Linked DNA regions of Homo sapiens: all the other regions are linked to region 3. The links are contacts of gene promoters, found by promoter capture Hi-C in blood cells and fetal thymus (Javierre and others, 2016). All regions are on one chromosome and are shown on one strand. The core of a region is centred on a gene start or on the middle of the fragment in contact, and the rest is flanking DNA. Distances in the headings are between cores, read along the strand shown.

Region 1 (2,700 bases), core at 110-2,609, 910 kb before region 3:
TTATTACTGAAAGCAGATAAAACTTTTTTCCATATGCTAATCATTTCCCCATTTTCATAAGTGTACTATAATTTCATTTTGAATCATACAGGCAGTACACACTACAGTCTCTTTCTTTTAACTTCTAATTACCTATATAGTAATATTCACCAGCAATACCTATCTGAGACTTGTTCTTTAGTAGATTCCTTAGGAGGAGCTCATGGGAACAGTGTTCTCTGAGTTTTTGCAGGTTAGTAGCTATTTGTGATTTTCTGGATATAAAATCCTTAGTTCACATTTTCTCTCTTTGAATATCTTAAATATACTACTGTAATGTCTCCTGGCATAATGAATTGCTGTCAAAAAAATTTGAGGATAATTAATTTTCCTTATTGAGTATGTGCCCTGTTTGCCTAGATGTCCAAATAATTTTTTCTTTTAAATACAATAATTTTTCTAGACTATGTCTTAGTTTTGGTCATTCTGGGTCAATATTCCCAGGTACATGGCATGTTCTTTTAATATACGGTTCAAATCACTTTTTTTTTGGTATCAGAAAAACTTTTTTGAACTATAGTTTTTAATACTGTTCCCTTGAGGATCATCTCTTCTCTCGTTTTCTTCTTCAGGGTCTCCTACTAGTGGTATATTGGATCATCTTTGCCTATTTTCCAGTTAACTCTTTAATGTAAGTTCCAGTTGTTTCACTTTTTTGATAATTCATCAGAGGATCTGAGCAAAATGTAAGCCTATTTTAAAACTGATTTATAATTTGGGGTAGTGATTGAGAGTGGTTTTTAACTATTATTTTCATTTTATTGGGGACCACTAGAGAAGTGGAACTAAAATCCCCAATGAACAGTATGCATTTACGGTACAACAGCAGGCCACTAGAAAAGACAGCTTGTTGCCTCTGAGATCATACAGTCTAAAAATCTAAGACTGGCACTGGAGGTAAAAGCTTCCTACTTTTATGGGATTAGAAATCTTTTCTTTGCTCTTTCTAATTACTAAAACTTATTAGAGACAGAAAATCTAACTCTCATCAAGCATCTCAATTGAGGGAGATTTTATTTATTGGTTTTACCATAATACCTAAAGTAGTGAGGATGAGGATGGCTTTCTAGGCAGGGGAAATGATATGAGCAAGTGCCTGGAAGGCAGTCAGAGGAAAACATGCCTTGTGGCTTAATGGAATACTTTTTAATGGAAAGGAGATAAAATAGTTATCTCCAAATATCCTAAGTTCTTTGTGGTTCAAAGTAAAACCATTCGTAATAATAGTGTAAGTTGCTGAACTCAGTGACCTGCACTCTTATTTCTGAAGTATATTAGTTTTCTGATGCTGCTATAATGAATTACCACAAATTTAGTGGCTTAAAACAATACAGATTTCTTCTCTTACAATACAGGTCAGAAGTCCAAAATGGGTTTTCCTGGGCTAGCTAGAATCAAAGTGTTGGCAGGGTTCCCTCTGAGATTCTGGGAATAGAACTTGTTTTCTTGTCCTTTTCAGTTTCTAGTGGCCATCTGTATGTCTTTGCTTATGGCCCCTTCCTCCGTCTTCAAATTTTATCACTCCAGTCTCTACCTCCATCACCACGTCACCTCCTTTCTGTAGTCATAACTCCACCTGTATTTCCCTTAGAAGGATACTTATGATTACATGTAAGGTCTACCTAGATAATCCAGGATAATCTTTCATCTCAATGTCTTAATTTTTTTAAATTTATTTTTAGATTCAAGGATACATGTGTAGGTTTGTTACATGGGTATATTGTGTGATGCTGAGGAGAAGCTTCTAATGATCCTGTCACTCAAGCAGTGAAGATAGTACCTGATAGGTAGTTTTTCAAACCTTTCCCCAGCTCCCTCCTTCCCCACTTCTGGAGCCCCCACTGTCTACTGTTCCCATCTTTGTGTCCATATGTATCCAGTGTTTAGCTGTCACGTATTAGTGAGAACAGGCTGTATTTGATTTTCTGTTTCTGCGTTAATTCTCTCAGGATAATGGCCTCTAGCAGCATCCATGTTGCTGCAAAGGACATAATTTCATTCTTTTTTATGGCTGCATAGTATTCCATGGTGTACATATACCACATTTTCTTTATCCAATCCACCATTGATGGGCAGCTGGGTTTATTCCATGTCTTTGCTATTGTGAATAGTGCTGTGATAAACATACACCATCTCAAAATCTTTAGTCACACCTGCAAAATCCTTTTTGCCATAAAGCAAGATTCACAGGTTCTGGGGATTAGGACCTGGATATCTTTAGAGATCACTATTTAGGCCTACCACACGCATAAGCTCTTTTTTTTTTTTTTTAAATCAAAGAATCCCTTATGATGGAAGGGAGTAAATTCATTTTCAGGGAGGTAATAGGGCTGAGCTCAAAATAGTCCCTGGAAATCTATAATTTCTTTGAAGACTAATGTTTTATCTTAAAAATCTGTTTGAATTTTCTGATTTACATTTGTGCTTGCTTTCTAATAAGAATAATCTACCTGCCCCACTGTTAGGCACTGAAAGAAAAATTGGTCTGGGAAGATGTATTGTGATTTTTTTTCATGGCTATGATGACACTGAGTATACCTTGGAGGTAACTGTGTCTAATTTGGATGACACGGCATCACATCATAGGAAAGAGAGCAAATTAAGAGGTGTCATTGGCCTTAACTCTGGCTGACTCAGGCCTAGCTCAATAACTTGGGGGTG
Region 2 (2,736 bases), core at 56-2,555, 980 kb before region 3:
TTGCCCTGTGTCCTCAAAACAAAAGGCCACTGCATCTAAAAGCTGTCAAGGTTTGACTGAGGGCTATGCTGTTGCCGACCCTGGAAACTAACACAGCTTCAGAACGTGGGAAGGATTTGAGTAGATGAAGTATTTAGGTAAAAGGAAAGACAAATAATTTGATAATTCTTCTTCTCAGATATCAAAAAAATTTTGCATAATAAAGTGTTAGTTTCTAGTGGAGTCAGTCATCCATTTTCTTGCTTCATCTTCCAAAAGGTGATTGTGAAAGTGCTTATGAATTCAGTTGCGTATAGTGGCTGAGGAACATTTTAGTAAAAAATTGACATTACTTCTAAATTTGTGTATGTATTTTTATGTCTAGTGGTAAAAAGTATGAAATATGGTACTGAGTCTTTATATTGGCAACTAGATGTTCTTTCAAACTAGAATTATGAGTAGTTTTATTTTTATAAAAAGATTTTAATGTGTTTTAATTAGATTTTTAAAAAGTAAAGACATTTCAGCTTTATTTAAATAATTTGATTTAAAATATTGGTATTCATTAATGTAATTAGCCTTTTGTTTTAATTTTAATAGATAAAATTAATATTTTAGAATAAAACAGCATTTTTACAAACAGGAAAAATAATTTTAAGTGTTTTGATTTTGTACAGTTATATTAGAATTTTTGATAAAAATTAATTTTAATATGGAGTAATTTGAATACAGTTAACTTTTAGTCTTTTGGATGATTATTGTCAAAAGAACAAATTATGTGAAAGTCTTACTTATAATAACATTTATTTTGCTAAAATAAAAAATTTGGATGAATGATAATTTGCATTATCTACATACTTATTTTATCATTTATCCAAGCTTTGCTAGCCCATCAACAAAACACACAAACATGCATAATAATAATTATTAAATGGAACAATCTGATATTTTGCCAACTTTCGGACATTTAAAACCATAGATTTATACTTTTTGTCATATAAGAGCCATGGATTTACATATATTTGTAGGCTTCACCATTTTGTATATTTATCAAGTGGATAAACAGAAAATATTTTTTAAAGTTTTTTTTTTATTTAAAACTTAAACAAATTTTGTTCATGGAGCTTAATTTGAACTCTTGTTCCAAACTTTGTAAAGGTTGGTAGAGGCCAGCCAGTAGGCTATGGCTAAAATTGGGTTTTGTTCTGTGTGGTGGAGAGCCACTGGGGGCTTTTGACAGGGAAAAGCAATGGCCCTGCTGATGTTCTGAAGGGGGCTGTGCTGGCTGCTGTGGAGACAGCGGATGTCACTAGGGGGCAAGGACACTGGCTAGCAGACTATTGCAGTGGTCCAGGCAGGTTCGAGGGCTAGAGTGGTGGAGGTAGAATAGGTGAGAAGTGAGTTGGAGCTAGTTTTTGAAGGTAGAGACAAGAAGACTTGCTTATGGATTGGTGTGGAATGTAAGAACAAAGATTTGAGAATGACTTCGAAGTCTAAGCCCCTGGCAAGGGATGGTGTTATTTACTTCTTACCTCTTAGGATTCTTGTGAGGATTACTGAACTGAAATGATATATGTAAAATGTCTAGTATGTTGCCTGGTACGTAATAGCGGCTCAATAAATGGTAGCGGTGAACATTTCATTATCTTCTCATTTGTTCATCTCTAGAGCCATGCAAGATACTGACATTATAATTTTCTTTTCCCTAGAAAAGAAATTAGCAAAGGAGTTGAACATCTTTGTCAAGGTTAAACAGCTAACAAATTGTAAAAGCAAGCTTAGAACTAGAGATTTCCCCATGAGAGACGCATGCAGAGAGCCTTTGAGGGCAGCTAAACCAGAGCAGGAGTTGGTGTTTGCCAAGTGTGGTTCGGGAACCTGGAATTTAAACTTCAGTGTACTGTAGGTATGTTTTTTAAGAGGAACAGGTAAAAATACCTCTTCATGGAATCAGGGGTCAGGATTCTGAGTTCCCGGGAGGACTGAATCAGCGATGAGGCTCAGTCATCAAGACATTAGCAGGCTTTTCTCAGAGTCAGCTCACATAACTGCCGTGTCCTTCCTGTGCCTGTTAGTTTCAGTGAGTTACAGCCAGAGTATTTAACAGCAGACGCATCCAATGTCTATTAAGTATCATATTTCAGGCATCATTCTAGGTTTTTATATGTATTATTTTTCCTTTAATTCTTACAATAGCCCTGTGAAGTAAGTAGTGCAGTGATCTCTAGTTTACAAGTCAGGAGATTGAGCCACACTCTGGTTAATTAACTTGCCCAAGGTTATGTATCCAATAAGTGGTAGAGCCAGGGTTCAAGCCCAACCATCAGATCTTACCCACCCTCAAACCATTTCATTGTAAAGATTTTAAAACCAAAGCTTAGAGAGGTCAAACACCTTGCCTAAGATCACACAGCTGGTTGATGGCAGGACCCAGAACCCTGAAGCCCGAACTCCAGTCCAAGTCTCTTCCGCTGGCCCAGGCTAAAAGGATCTTTTGCTTGCCTTTTGGAGGCTTTGACCTGTTTAGGGAATGGGCCCCAAATCTGGGCACAGTGCCAGATTTTTGTCTAGATGGTTTTGAAATTATGGTTTCTTTTATCTTTTTCAATCTTATTTTATGAACCTGGTGTGGAGAACTTGTTCACAGTTCTCTGCTTGGTTTCCCTGTGTAATCAACAGCAGACTGTTGCAAACAAGTCAGTTCCAAAAGTTCTCTTAAACATTAGAACTGCAAGAAATTTTGATGGAGTTAGGACA
Region 3 (2,710 bases), core at 6-2,505:
AAATGAGAGAAGGAAATGAAAGAAAGAAGAAAGAAAAGAAGGCAGGAAGAGAGACAGGAAAGAACGAAGAACGAAAGAAATGGAAGGAGGGAAGAGGGGAAGAAAGGAAGAGGAAGGAGAAGAGAAGAAAATAAAGGGGGGAGAAAGGAAAGAAGGAAGAAAGAAAAAAGAAAGGCAGGAAGAGGAAAGAGAAAGAAAAAGGAAAAAGAAAAGGAGGAAAGAAAAAAAGAAAGAAAAAGAAAAAAGAAAGAAAAAGGAAGGAAGGAAGAGAAAGAAAGAAAGAAAAAAGAAAAGAGGGAAAGGAAGAGCGAAGGGAAAGAAGAAAAGAGAGCCGGCCGGAAAAGAAAGAGCAATCACATAAAAACATAAAACACAGATCTCCAACATGCTGTGTTGAGACGCCTCTTCTGGGTTAAAACAAAATGAAAACAGTCACAGACGAGGCAGGGGAAAGTGCTGGCAAAGCGTGGGCTCCTCGCAGACAGCTCCAGGTCCTCCGGCCGCAGGCGACGAAGGCAGAGCGGCTGGAGAGCGCGGAGCCCCGGCGGAGAGCGGAGCGCAGCGGCTGCGGACTCACCCCGCCGCCCGGCCCCGCGGCAGCAGCTGCCGCTGCCGCTGCCGCCTCCGCCTCCCGGCTCTCCCGCTCGCGGCTCACCTCGGCCGCGGTCCCCGCGCAGTACCCACCTCTGCGCCGCCGTGTTGGCGTCCAGCACCCCGGCGCCCTGCATCCACGTCCGCACCGCGTTCATGCCGCTGCCCAGCGGCTCTTCCTTCATGCTGCTTCCACTCCGTTGGATGCTTTCCTGAATCCCAAACATGAAAACAACCTTTTCTTGTGGAAAATCTCCTCCCCCTTGAAAAAAATTAAAAAAAAAAAAAAAGGAAAGAAAAGAAAGAAAAGAAAAGAAACAAAAACGCCAACCAGAGATTTTTTTTTTTCTCAGACGATGAACTCGCACTTAGAAGATCAAGGCGGGCTGGAAAGCAAATTTTTAAAAAATGTAAACCTCTGCTCAAAACTGAGCGATAACCCGAAAAAAAGAAGAAAGGGAAAATCCAACGAAAAGACCAAAATAATAAAATTAGAGATGTATGCTTGGCTGTTGGGGGTTGTTTGGTTGGTTGATTTTTGGTTTGGGTGCTTTTTTTTTTTTTTTGCTTTTTTTTTTTTTTTTTTGTAATGATCACAGGCCGGTGGAGGACAGGAGGGGCTGGAGTTTCCTTTTGTAGAGGTACCCTTCACTTGAAGAAGCAGGAAGAAAAAAAAAAAAAAAAAAAAAAAAAAAAAAAAAAAACCCTGATGGCAATTTAAGAAACAATAGACTCAACTCGCGCTGCCGGCTTTGCTACTTCAAGTGTCATTTTCCACAACCAGGCAAGTTTTTTCCTCTCTCTCTCTTTTTTTTTCCTCCTTCTCTCCCAACCAAAGATGTTTCTTTCCTTTGCGTGTAGATGAGGAGGACGCTGGTTGCCGTAGACAGATACACCAGAGAGGGTGGGGGGAAGGGGAGAGAGGGAGAGAGGAAAGGGGGGGAGGGAAAGAGAGATAGAGAGGAGAGGGAGAAAGAGAGAGGGGTGGACCCTGCTGGATGGAGATTCTGTTTTCTCCTTGCTAAAATAGAAGTGATTTGCAGGCTTTCCCTATGGAATCCAGTTTGACTTTCCCCAGAGCTAAACACAGGCACACTAACCCCAAAGGGAGGAGGCGGGGCCCGCGCATCGAGGCCCCGCCCCTTCATTTGCATAACGTCATCTTTCCGCCCACCGCAGCCAATCGCGGCCCGGGAGCCGGCTCGCTGGCGGCGCCAGGCCACGCTCTCTCATTAACATCCCGCTCCCGGTGGCGCAGGGGAGCCGGCCAAAGTTCCTCGCAAAGTGGCGAGCGAAGGAGCGCTGAGCACTGACGTCTGGGCTGGGGAGGAGCGGGTCCGAGCGAGGACGGAGAGGGGACAGAGGGAAAGGGAGGCGGGTGTCTTCCTCAGGAATTTGAGCTGGGGATCTGCATCCTGGCCATTGCAGTCCTTTAGCATCCTCGCCGCGCCCTGAGCGCGCTGGAGGCTCGCAGGCTGCGCCCTCCCAGGGCTGATGCCGCGTCCTGCTCCGCCGTTCTGGGACGTCGGGGACAAAAGTGGAGGAGACGGGAGAGCCCGGGCAGAAAAAGCAGGACGCGCGTCCCAGGTGCCCACCTCTTCGCTTTGAGGCGGGGGCGGTGGGATGGAATATGGGTGCGCGAGGTCGGGGCTGGTAACTCTCGGAGGGGCACGGCCTCCACGCTGGGAGGGATGAATGGACGCTGGGCCCCGGCAAATGAGGCGCTGTGGGTCCCCAGGAAGTGGGGTACCAGGCTCTACTCCCACCCCGGCCTCTGAAACGCTTCTCTCTCGGCCGCTAGCCTAGAGGCTGCCAGGGTTGGGCACTGTTCTCACTCACACGCTCACCTCTCTCGGGCAGTCCTCGAGATATGTGAATGGTGGAATGAATGCTCTCACTGGGGCTGTGTCAGGATGCGTTTTTAAATTTTCTCAAATTAAATGCCAACCCCTCATTCCCCACCCCAAGTAGTTGGTTCGTTTGTTTTTAGAGTAACTACCAAAGCAACAGCAATGTTAACCGTCCTTGATTAGCTGGTTATTTGGTGTAGGGTTTTTCTCATCCTCCTTTATTCTTCCTGTTAAAAAGGAGGGCTTGAACAAATCCTTCCTAACTCTGT
Region 4 (2,700 bases), core at 26-2,525, 660 kb before region 3:
TCAGTGAGAGAGAATGCACACCATGAGGAACTATAAGTCATCTCAGTAAGAGAGTGTTAGAAAGGACTTGTGGGACACAAGCTTGCATTAGGTGATTTGGGAGAGAGTTTAAGGAAGCAGTTTTCTTCTGAATTGGTGCTGTCAGGAAGTAGGAATAATCCTATGATTCAGTATCTAAAGAAATCTTATTTAGAGGGAGAGACTAGATGAAGGTTGAGTATCTAAATCAGTCTTATATAGAAGAAGGGAATGCCAGAACAGTTCTAAGGCTGTAATTGATTAAGAAGTAGCAATCATTCACATTAGCCAGGAAGGAGGGGAGATTGAGCATTTTTGCAGTTTGAACAATGCTGAAGTTTCTCTGTGTTCAGACAATATTATGGAATGGTCTAGTCTTTGTCTCGCTCCATCATGGTCACAGAGTGACCATGTCTGAGGTTGATGCTCTTTGAAATTGCTTACATTCCAAAAGGGAACATCAAAGCCTAGCCAACAGTACTAGATCAGCTCCTGGATGTCTTGCACAGCTTTTCTGTTTCTTGGTATGACTAATGTAATAGTAATAGCCACCATATTGAACACTTTTTACTTTCCAGACATTGTGCTGAGCAGTTGACCTGCATTAGCTAATACCATTCTCACAACCACCCAGTAACGTGAGTGCCATCATTAACAATCTACAAATGAGGAGACAGGCTGATATGGTTTGGATCTGTGTCCACACTTAAATTTCATGTTGAATTGTAATCCCAGTGTTGGAGGGGGTCTGGTGGGAGGTGACTGGATCATGGGGGTGAATCTTTCATGAATGGTTTAGAACTATCCCTTTGGTGCTGTTCTCATAATAGAGTTCTCATAAGATCTGGTTGTTTAAACATGTCTAGCACCTTCCCCTTCTCTTTGTCCCCCCTGCTCTTGCCATATAAGAGGGCCTACTTCCCCTTTGCCTTCTGCCATGGTAGTAAGTCCCCTGAGACATCCTCAGAGGCTGAGGAGATGTCAGCATTATGCTTTCTGCACAGCTTGCAGAACCCATGAGAATTATACCTCTTTTCTTTATAAATTATCCAGCCTCAGGTATTTCTTTATAGCAATGTGAGAATGGACCAATACATAGGCCCAGAGAAACTGAACAAATTTGGCCAAAATTATGGAGCTGGGAATAGGTGAAGTTTTATGAAAACCCAAGACTCTCCACCTCCACTTAGTCTCTGATGTTCAACCTTATGAGAGCAAAAGCTGATTGAGGACCTAATTTGGGCCTGGTGCTTTGCAAGCATTATCTCATTTATTCATGATCCTTTGCTATAAAGAAACTTGTAATCCAGCGTGAGATAAAAAACTAATGTCAACATCTGCAATATATGGCAGCTTATCATCCAACTGTTATAAATGTGTAGAGGAAGAAGTGATATATTCATTCATTCAAAAAATATTTGTTGAACTTCTACAATGTAAGGCATCATGTTAAATGTGAGATCTAGAGTTGTATCAGTGAGATATATTGAGTTCATGACCTCTTGAGAATTATGTTTTTTTGTGGGAAAGAGAAACGTTAGACAATTAAACAAATAAATATGTAATTATACATTCAGAAAAAGTGTATGAAGATAGATAACACATCTTAATAGTATACAGTAACAGTACTAGAGCAGGGCAGATGTATAGCTCTACTAGGTGTCCGGGAAGGACCTCTGGAGAAGTAACATTTCAGCCGAGACCTACCAGGTGCCAAGGAGGCAGTTTCCAGAAAAGCCGAGGGAAGAGCCTTCCAAGCAGTGGAAATACAGAGTGTAAGGGATGTATGACTGGAATACTCTAGGGAAATCCTGGAAAATTAAGAAGATCCAGGGTGACTGGGGCATCATGGCTTGGGATGAGATAGGGAAGATAGCCAGGCAGATCATAAGGCAAAAGGATGCAAAATTTTCTTCTCCATTCAATGGGAAACCATTGAAGGCTTTTAAGAAGGGAGATGAATTAATTCCAAATGAGAGTCTAAAGAGGACTCAATGGCAGAGCAACACTGGAGTTGGGCTGTGGAGGAGGAATATTATCAACAAAAGTAGAGAGTGATATACCAAAAAGAAGTAGACAATGTGAAAAAAGGCACAGAGTCCAGGAACCACCAAATTGGTGTCCAGATTGGTGAGTTAGTCTGTGCCCCTGAGAGAAGTGTGCATGCTGACAGTGCAGGGTGGAAGTAAATTCTGAAAGTTGCCCTTGGAGTTAGACTGTTGGACATGAAGTTCGAGTTTCTATAGACAGTGGGGAGTCATAGCATTGAGGGTCATAAGACTGACAAATGGAATAAGAGACCTAATTTATACTTCTCTTTTGTGCTTTCTTATTTTTATGGATTGGTTTGTGAGTACTCCTTGGCTCTTCTCAGACCAAACCCAGTGATAACACAGCCAGAAGGACAGGTTAGGGTTTTTTATAAAAGCAAAGCAAACAAACACAACCTTTGAAGCTTGCAATATTGAAGAGATTCATTTTCCTATGTTGCTAATGCTTTGTATTATGATTACTGTTATAAATTAAGTAGTTATTCTCAAAAAGCCTCAGACTTCTACGTTTTGGCTGGCACTAGATAAGGCTGATCAATACTCTGGACAAATATGTAGCTTTTCTATTTACTCAACAAGAATTTTTGAAAAAAACCCGTCTTTTCATAACATTGTCATTTTTGCCATGTTT
Region 5 (2,700 bases), core at 201-2,700, 950 kb before region 3:
CTCTCTAGGTGGCCCTATGCAATCTTACCCCTTCACTTTCCCCAAAAGTAATCCTATCCTGGCTTTCCTAGTAATCACTTCTTTGCATCCATTACAATTTTATTATCCAGGCGTGCCTCCCTAGACACTCTACTTTAGTCTTGTGCATTAAGAAAATTAACACGTCTTTCAAGTCTCTTTTAATGTACAGTTTCCTCATCCTTTCTTTTCTTTTTCTTACAATTTACCTTTTGACCTATAGTTTTCCTACAATATAGATATTGCTGATTGCATACTCATTGTACAGTCCAACATGTTCCTCTTTATCTTCTGCAAATTGGGAGCTACATTGGGATACTTGGTTAGATTCAGATTCAATTGATTTGGTAGGTGGCATTGAGTTCTTTTACTAAGAGGCACACACTATCTGATTTTTGGTCTTTTTAAGAAATGTTAACATTAGCCAATGCTCAGTGCTTGGATTCATTAAATCACTGGAAATTGCCAGATGGTGATATCTAATGCTATCATTTCCTTGTCATTTATTAGCTGGAAAACATAAATGGATGCTTCCCCTCATCTACTTTTTGATTACCCCGTGGTATTGTTCATATAGGAGATATAGGATAAATGCTTGATTCTCTTCCTTTATTTACTGGTTTTAAAGATAATGAATTGCTTCTATCATCCTTTGAAGGTAATTAGTTTTTTTTAATCATAAATTAAAGGACTGGCACTTCAATTAATGAGTTTCTAGACTTGCACTTTTAGTCTACATCTCAGGTGTCTTTAGTGTTCTGAATATACGGGTCAGTGCTTATACCTGTGAACTTGGCTATTCTCCTCCTTCCAGATCACCCTGGAAGGAAGCAGCCACACTCTCTATGGACTACTCAAAGGCCAGTGAAAGAAGCTTGATTTTGGTTTTGTATCTCTTTATTTTTGGTGCTAGTGCCAGGTGAGGGCTAAAATGGCCATGAATGTAAAGTGTTCCTGCTGAAGGACTTAGAACATTTATGGTCCAGTTGGCATATCTTTGTCACTGTTAAGTATCCCATTTATCTGGCCTTTCCCTGCTGATCCCAGAGCACCAAGCCCCGCTCTGATCCTACATCTGGCTTTCCGTTCAACTTGACAGCAGGAAGAGAATGCCCAGATCATACTTGCACAAATATTTTCTTTTTGCTCAGTGATTAGATTTTTCACTAGAAATGAGTAAATTGGCATTTTGTTCTAAAATCGTATTTTATGTTCTTTTCCAAGAACATGTGATCTCTAGAAATACTTTCCTTTTAACCCTGCTTTTTTTTTTTTTTTTTTTTTTTCCAAAAGGCTTTGTCCAGTTTTAGGATGACTCTGTACTTGACTGGTCCTTTTTTTTTTTTTTTTTTTTTTTCTCAGTTTCTTCCAAGGGAGACACTTACAGTCCTTCTAGGTAACTGAGAAAAAGCACATTCTTTTTAACCTGGGTCCACTCATCCACATGGCCCTGAGGCTGGCCATTGAGTCCTCTCATTCCCTCACCCCAGCTAGCAATGAGGTACTGCTGTTAGAAACCAGGTACCTCTCCTTGGCAACAGCAGCTGCTAACTTACAAGCAGGTCATTAAGTAAGGGTAATGATGGATACAACCAGATTGCCTGGCCTTAAAAAAAAAATCACTCCTTACCAAACTTTCTTTTCTAGAATGAAAGAGAATGCCAGTTTGAATCTCGAGTCTGTAAGTAAGCATTTAGAACCCAAAGATGACCTAAAACACATTCTTACCCCATCTCTCGACAGGTGAAAAAAGCCAAAATATGTGTTTTACTTTTTGCTCTTGCTCTGGACATACCTAGGCCCAAGTTAGAAAATCGTTCCCCCGTGACAATAAATCTGACGTTTTCTGTTATCTCTGGGGAACTGGTTTGTAAAATTTCACAGCCTTGTTCTCCTTGACTGGCTGAGTCATATGGAAAATAAAAATGAATAAAAAATAGCAATGAGTACTATAGCCCACAAAGCAAAGTCTAAATTAAGCAACTTCACTTAAAGCTTTGGTGTTAGAGACCTAATTAATTAAAAACACTGGGGTTAAACAATTGCCCATCCATCTTTAAGTTGAAGGGAAGGACAGAGTCCATATGATGTTCCACTGAAGAATGAACAATGGCATGGGTCCTGGGTGTTCCTGATTTCATAGAGCACTGTGGAGACTTTTTAAATGTCCCCTTTTTCCTGAGACATATGGACTCTACACCATTGTCATACTTAATCGCAGAAATTGGGTTCCCATGCTCCTATTTGTTTGTTTCCTTGCTTGAGGCCTGTGGCTGGGGCCTTGTGTGTTTTTAGCAATTGGAGTCAGCTTTTGTTTGGCCTTTAAGATGAAATAAGACAAAACCATACACATGTTACAAAACATCAGAATATAAAGGGGATTATTGGTGCTGTAATTAAAGAACTAGGAGGTCATTATTCCAGTTGTCCCTCCACCCTCCCACCACATGGCTCTCTGCTAGCCCAGGAACAAAAGAGATTTAAAAATCAGACAGCCCTCAGTTTATTTTAATGGCAGCCTCTTAAGTCTGGGCATAGTTGGAGGGTGTTTAATTGACAGATGACAGTTTGCTCTGTCTTGGGGGTCTCTCAGACTGGAGAAGCATCAAAATAAACCAATCCCAGATAACCAAAGAATCTGAGCTCTTGTTATGCAAACCTGTGAGTATGTGACAAAACATA

Evidence for each region. The method cuts DNA at HindIII sites, captures the fragments that hold promoters and counts their contacts. A CHiCAGO score of 5 or more calls a contact.
Region 1: a contact is called between a fragment that was not itself captured here and the fragment with the promoter of EBF1 in region 3, in 5 of 17 cell types (total B cells, naive B cells, fetal thymus and 2 more). The highest score is 12.9, in total B cells.
Region 2: a contact is called between a fragment that was not itself captured here and the fragment with the promoter of EBF1 in region 3, in 1 of 17 cell types (M0 macrophages). The highest score is 5.4, in M0 macrophages.
Region 4: a contact is called between a fragment that was not itself captured here and the fragment with the promoter of EBF1 in region 3, in 1 of 17 cell types (fetal thymus). The highest score is 6.6, in fetal thymus.
Region 5: a contact is called between a fragment that was not itself captured here and the fragment with the promoter of EBF1 in region 3, in 3 of 17 cell types (M0 macrophages, fetal thymus and total B cells). The highest score is 6.5, in M0 macrophages.

What each region holds. Positions count from the first base shown.
Region 1 is chr5:158,191,519-158,194,218 of GRCh38, forward strand. No RefSeq gene overlaps it. Among named protein-coding and RNA genes, the nearest start is that of LINC02227, 220 kb to the right of the region's middle. The HindIII fragment of the contact is 837 bases long and covers 942-1,778 here.
Region 2 is chr5:158,118,004-158,120,739 of GRCh38, forward strand. No RefSeq gene overlaps it. Among named protein-coding and RNA genes, the nearest start is that of CLINT1, 260 kb to the left of the region's middle. The HindIII fragment of the contact is 898 bases long and covers 857-1,754 here.
Region 3 is chr5:159,098,661-159,101,370 of GRCh38, forward strand. EBF1 (EBF transcription factor 1) reads right to left here and starts at 1,256. Exons shown (of 16, transcript NM_024007.5): 1 at 685-1,256. The coding sequence starts at 818. It overlaps LINC02202 (long intergenic non-protein coding RNA 2202), which reads left to right and starts at 1,823. Exons shown (of 3, transcript NR_109890.1): 1 at 1,823-2,178. RefSeq lists a silencer at 429-718 and enhancers at 1,536-2,164, 2,165-2,710. The HindIII fragment of the contact is 12,266 bases long and covers 1-2,710 here.
Region 4 is chr5:158,435,915-158,438,614 of GRCh38, forward strand. No RefSeq gene overlaps it. Among named protein-coding and RNA genes, the nearest start is that of LINC02227, 27 kb to the left of the region's middle. The HindIII fragment of the contact is 2,392 bases long and covers 80-2,471 here.
Region 5 is chr5:158,144,128-158,146,827 of GRCh38, forward strand. No RefSeq gene overlaps it. Among named protein-coding and RNA genes, the nearest start is that of LINC02227, 260 kb to the right of the region's middle. The HindIII fragment of the contact is 1,121 bases long and covers 891-2,011 here.